2 separate regions of the Homo sapiens genome follow, and region 2 is linked to region 1. Evidence: promoter capture Hi-C in 16 types of primary human blood cells and fetal thymus (Javierre and others, 2016). All regions are on one chromosome and are shown on one strand. Each heading gives the region's core, a stretch centred on a gene start or on the middle of the fragment in contact. The rest is flanking DNA. Distances are from core to core; before and after follow the strand shown.

Region 1 (2,742 bases), core at 243-2,742:
ATTTTTTGTATTTTTAGTAGAGACGGGGTTTCACCGTGTTAGCCAGGATGGTCTCGATCTCCTGACCTCGTGATCCGCCCGCCTCGGCCTTCCAAAGTGCTGGGATTACAGAAGTAAGCCACCACGCCCGGCCAGAATTTTGGATATTTTAGCTAAAATATATTTTAGCTGAAGGGGGCAAGACAAAGAAAAATAAATAAATACACGCTCACACATACACACAGAGAATAACTGAGGGGATGGGATTTTAAAAATTTATTTCATTTTTCCCATGGGATCTATTAATAGACTAGCGAGGGGATGGGATCTTGAACACTGGTTGAAGGAACCGACTTAAGAGCGAAGACATGCTGCTATTAGCGAAGACAGGGAGGTGAGGGTAAGTTCATTTATTCACTCAACAATCACTAGTTGAGTGTGGATTAAAAAAAACAGTCCTTGACCACATAAGGAATTAGGTCTAGTAGGGAAGACAAACGTAGGTCAATAAATTACATAAGGGTTATACTAGATTGTGTGGTGGTACAGGTGGGGAAGCGAGCAACTGTCTGCATTGTGTCCAGGAAAGGGTCACAGGCGTGTTATGTAGATTCTGGAGAAAATTCAAAAATAGCATTTATTTTTACTTATTTACTTTTGTATGTGGAGACGAGGGTCTCACTATGTTGCCCAGGCTGGTGTTGAACTACTCGCCTCAAGAAATCCTCCCGCCTCGACCTCCCAAAGTGTTGGGACTACAGGTGTGAGCCACCGCGCCTGGCCTAAATGTGGCATTTAGAAAAAGTATTTACAACATCTGCATTAAAAGGACCATAAAGCAACCAGGCATCTAAGTCCCTGAAGCAATTTAAGTTGCTCAAACTTGAGAGGACAACCAAATGATAGCAAAAGGGCAAAAGAGAAAGGAAGCTGCAGTGCCCACTCAGAAGTGTGAGAGCGGGAGAAGGCATTTCGGGAGCCGCCCGAGCTTCAGGAAACCGAGCGAGACACCAGGTGGGCACACTGAGGATTAAAGAGGGCCTCGCGGTTCCGCACTGCGGCCGGGAGACAAACCAGTAGCCACTATCACCAGCCCCGGGCAGACCACTAAGAACTGTGGAGGTGCGCGGGGCGGCTCAGGGCTGGCGCATTTGGTGAGGAGCTCAGACAACGAGGCCCTTAGGGTCGGCTTAGGCGGTTCCCTGACCAAGGCGCCAGAAAAGGGCCTGGCTCAAGCAAGCACGGGCGGCGTGCAGTACAGCACACCTAGCCCCGATTCTTCAACAGTTCTCGCCCTCCGAGCCTAGCACAACGAGCCTCACCGAAACCGTACACCGCCACCAGGACACTCCGTGATGGGGGATCACCACCCTCAGAAAGAGGAAGCGACTAGCAGGCGCGCAATCCCGCGAGACCAGGAGGCCCCGCCCGAAGCCCGGCCTCTGTGACCGGAAGTGAGGCGTTTTGCCCCGCCCCCGTGGCCGATACCTCGCGAGACTTGGCGAAGGCCTTCCTTTTTCGTCTGGGCTGCCAACATGGTAGGTGTTTCGTTTCTTGCCTCCTCTTCCTTGCCGGCGGAGACCCCTAAGCTGTATTCCCATTGCCCCTAGTCATCCACTCCCTACCATGGTCGGGGCTTCCAGGCTGCGCATGGCCGCCTGCGGGGCAGGGTGGCCGGCGCGGGCCCGGGGCGGGGCTCCCGGAGCCGTGTGTTAGGCCCGCGGTTCGGATCTCTAGGACACGCGGGCCCCTGCGCTACCGTGGTGAGACCTCACGGCCCTGAGCGGATCGGTACCCTCAGCTTTCCCAAACGCTCCAGAAGTTAGGTCTTTGACCCACAGGCTTACAGGACCATCTCGGCTGGCGGGCATCGCCCCCTGCCCCTAATTCCTTAGGCCTTACCACCAAGCTTTTTCCACACAGCCATCCAGACTGAGGAAGACCCGGAAACTTAGGGGCCACGTGAGCCACGGCCACGGCCGCATAGGTAAGTGCCGGCTTCCCCTCGGGGTGGGCCTTGGGCTCTCTTCGGGTGCTTAGCTAGTCTGGAGATCGGTAGCCTATAAGTGGGTTAGAATAAGACCTTTTTGTGGTCAAGTTGCACAGCTGTTGATTTTTTTCTGACGATCCTCTAGTATTCCAGTTCTAAGGAATTTCACATCAGTGGGGTAATAGGAATTGAGCAGGCACGGTATTGGGTTAGTTGAAGACATGGAGTACTGTGGGAATGCTGTGATGTGGAACCTGAAAAGATGTTTCACCCGGAATCCTAAAGTAATCGCATTGCTGAAAACCGGCATCGGTAGGGTGGGAACAGCGTAAGCGGGACACAGAAGTCTGGGAAACACTCTGCTTTTGTGCGAGGAAGTATTGAGATGCATGAGAAGGCTGTGTGGTGCATGTAGCTTTTTTGTGTGTGTGTGAGACTGATCACTGTCGCCCAGGCTGGAGTGCAGTGGCGAAATCTCGGCTCACTGCAACCCCTGCCTGCCGGGCTCAAGCGATTCTCCTGCCTCAGCCTCCCGAGTAGCTGATATTACAGGTGTGCGCCACGACGCCCGGCTAATTCTTTTTCTATTTTTAGTAGAGTCGGGGGTTTCTCCGTGTTGGCCAGGCTGGTCTCGAACTCCTGACCTCAGGTGATCTACCCCCCCTCGTCCTCCTAAAATGCTGGGATTACAGGCATGAGCCATCACACCGGCCCCACGTAGCTTTGTATTCCTGCAGGCAAGCACCGGAAGCACCCCGGCGGCCGCGGTAATG
Region 2 (2,735 bases), core at 57-2,556, 8.4 Mb after region 1:
GCCTGGGTGACAAAGTGAGAATCGGTCTCAAACAAAAACACACAAATTAGCTGGGCCTGCTGGCGGGCGCCTGTAATCCCACCTATTCGGGAGGCTGAGGCAGGAGAATCGCTTGAATCCAGGAGGTGGAGGTTGCAGTGAGCTGAGATCGCGCCACTGCACTCCAGACTGGGCGACAAGAGCAAGACTGTCTCAAAAAAAAAAAAAAAAAGAGGTGGGGTCTCTCTGTCACCCAGGAGTGCAGTGGCTTCATCATAGCTCACTGCAGCCTGGGACTTCTAGGCTCTGGTGATCCTCTCACCTCTGCATCCCAAGTATCTGGGACTACAGGCACATTGCGGCTGGCTTTTTTGGGCGGGGGAGTCGGAGAGTAGTATGTTCTCAGGCCCCAGAACCATGTTCAGCACATAGAAGGTAAACATTTGCTGAATGAAGCCACTTGCACGAAGTCACACGCAGCTGAGATTCAAACCACACCTAACTGTGAGGAACTGTGTCAGGCACTCTGCTTAGCCAATTCCAACTCCTCCACTTGACAGCTGTGTGATTTGGGGCTGGTTAGTATCCAGCGGCAGTGTGCCTCTGCTTCCTCAACTGTAAACTGGGGTGAAAGCCATGAAGATTTATTTCAAAGTATTGTGGTCAGAATTAAACGAAATCAGTACATGTGAAGTGCTTACAATGATGCCTCTAGCACGGTGGCGAGACCAGAGTTTTGGCTATTTTTAAAATAACTTTACCACCTACTAGATCCTACAAGTCACACGAGGACAGGCGAAATAGGCTATGTTAGACACAAACACTCACCGATCTGTGAAGGAGTAAGGCCCTTCTTGGCCAGTTTGTAAATCTGCTCCTTCACGTCGTCAGATGTCAACTTCAACCACTGTTATGGAATAGAAAGCAGCCTTAGGATGAGAACCCAGGAATGGCGCCGCAGAACAGCGGTCTCTCCTTCCGCAAAACCGCGCTCCTCATACACGCAAGTTCCTCACCCTGGCGTCGCTTCACCCGAGACAAATGCCAACCCCCTCCCCGGATTCTCCCCGGTCCCAGCGCGCTACTTACAGTGGGGACGCTGCGTCGATAGGGTAAAGCCGACTGGGACAGGCCCTTCCTGGGGAGAGAAGCAGTCTCGAGGTGAGGTGGCGGCTAGTGCCAGAGCAGCCCAGAACATCATCCCCTCGGCCCGCTGCCCACACTCCCTGTCTTCCTCCCACCCCCCGCCCAGCAATCCGGCTTGATGCCCCGAGCTCACCCGGGAGCATGCATGCGACCCATGATGGCGGCGATCAGGCAACGAAAGGAGAGCGAGAGTGGAAACGCCGCAGGAAGCCACCCAACACGCAGGAAGTGACCTCACACGTCCCCGCTTCCTCTCACGCAGGAGGCGGAGCTACGCTGCGCAGCCACCGCCCGTCTGTGTGACTACATCTCCCGAAATGCATTTCAGCGTCGCAAGAGATCGTCAATCCAGCCTCATCCCGGCATGCATCGGTCTTTGGTCAGCCTTGTTGCCAGAGCGGGAATTTGAGGCTGACGCCAGCTTGCGTCGAAATTCCCTGTGGACGCCGAGATCACAAAGATTCGAATGCTGCGCTGGGGGTGGGTATGGAGCAGGTAGGGCTGGAAGAAGCAGCCATACACAGGTGTTTGCTCATTCACCAGTGCCTGGCTTTGTCCTGGCACTAGATCCCTCAGAGTCGGCCCTGCGCCTAATAAATTAACAGATACAATAGCATGTGATGAGGACCACACGGGAAGCCATGGCAGCGGCTACCGCCCAGCCAGCGCTTCCATTTCTCATTTCTAAATCCTACCCTAATCTGTCAGGGGAGAGTCGCTGACGGTGAAGAACCGGTCTAAGGAGTTGAACCAGGTCCCCACGGATGCCTGCCGCCCTCCGCACTCGAATTCCCCTGCGCAGGGCTCTGGGGCGCTGGGCTCGCCGGGGAGAAGGGTTGGGCAGAGGCTTACGGAGCTATGTTCCCAAGTGAGAGAGTTGGCGGGCAGGGAAGAGCCTTGGGAGCAAGACTGCAAAGGCCAAGAGGATGAGGGATAAAATGAAGCATTTGAATTTCATGGGAAAAGGGAACCGTCAAGGAAGAAGCTTTTTTTTTTTTTTGAGACGGAGTTTCGCTCTTGATTCGCAGGCTGGAGTGCAATGGCGCGATCTCGGCTTGCCGCACCCTCCGCCTCCCGGCTTCAAGCGATTCTCCTGCCTCAGCCTCCTGAATAGCTGGGATCACAGGCATGCGCCACCACTTCCAGCTAATTTTGTATTTTTAGTAGAGACGGGTTTTTCCATGTTGGTCAGGCTGGTCTTAAATTCCCGACCTCAGGTGATCCGCCCGCCTCGGCCTCCCAAAGTGCTGGGATTACAGGCGTGAGCCACCGCGCCTGGCCGGAAGAAGCTCTTTTAAGACAGACCTAGCCTGGGCAACATGGCGAAACCCCCTCTCTATAAATACAAAGAATTAGCCGGGCGTGCTCGCTCGTGCCTTTGGTTCCAGCTACGAAGGAGGCTGAGGTGGAGAATCTCTGGAGCCGGGAAGGACATTGCGGTGAGCCGAGATAGCACCACTGCGCGCCAGCCTGGGCAACAGAGCAAGACTCTGTCTTAAAAAAAAAAAAAAAAAAGGAAAGAAAGAAAAAGACTGACTCAGTGCCGGTACACAACAATGCGTTGAAAGAATGGGCAAATGAAGCAGCTTCTTAAAATTTTAAAAAGTAAG

Evidence for each region. Contacts are between HindIII fragments. The CHiCAGO score rates a contact against its expected background, and 5 or more counts as called.
Region 2: the fragment with the promoter of RPS13 here is called in contact with the fragment with the promoter of RPL27A in region 1 in 1 of 17 cell types (non-activated CD4 T cells); the score reaches 7.1 in non-activated CD4 T cells.

The regions. Positions count from the first base shown.
Region 1 is chr11:8,681,300-8,684,041 of GRCh38, forward strand. It overlaps RPL27A (ribosomal protein L27a), which reads left to right and starts at 1,493. Exons shown (of 5, transcript NM_000990.5): 1 at 1,493-1,517; 2 at 1,903-1,966; 3 at 2,707-2,742. The coding sequence starts at 1,515. TRIM66 (tripartite motif containing 66) reads right to left here and starts at 1,366. Exons shown (of 25, transcript NM_001388022.1): 1 at 1,302-1,366. RefSeq lists enhancers at 923-2,122, 986-1,055, 1,256-1,445, 1,772-2,414 and a silencer at 1,566-1,765. The HindIII fragment of the contact is 2,972 bases long and covers 1-1,886 here.
Region 2 is chr11:17,076,361-17,079,095 of GRCh38, forward strand. It overlaps RPS13 (ribosomal protein S13), which reads right to left and starts at 1,307. Exons shown (of 6, transcript NM_001017.3): 1 at 1,259-1,307; 2 at 1,069-1,117; 3 at 808-886. The coding sequence starts at 1,281. RefSeq lists an enhancer at 1,341-1,540. The HindIII fragment of the contact is 8,959 bases long and covers 1-2,108 here.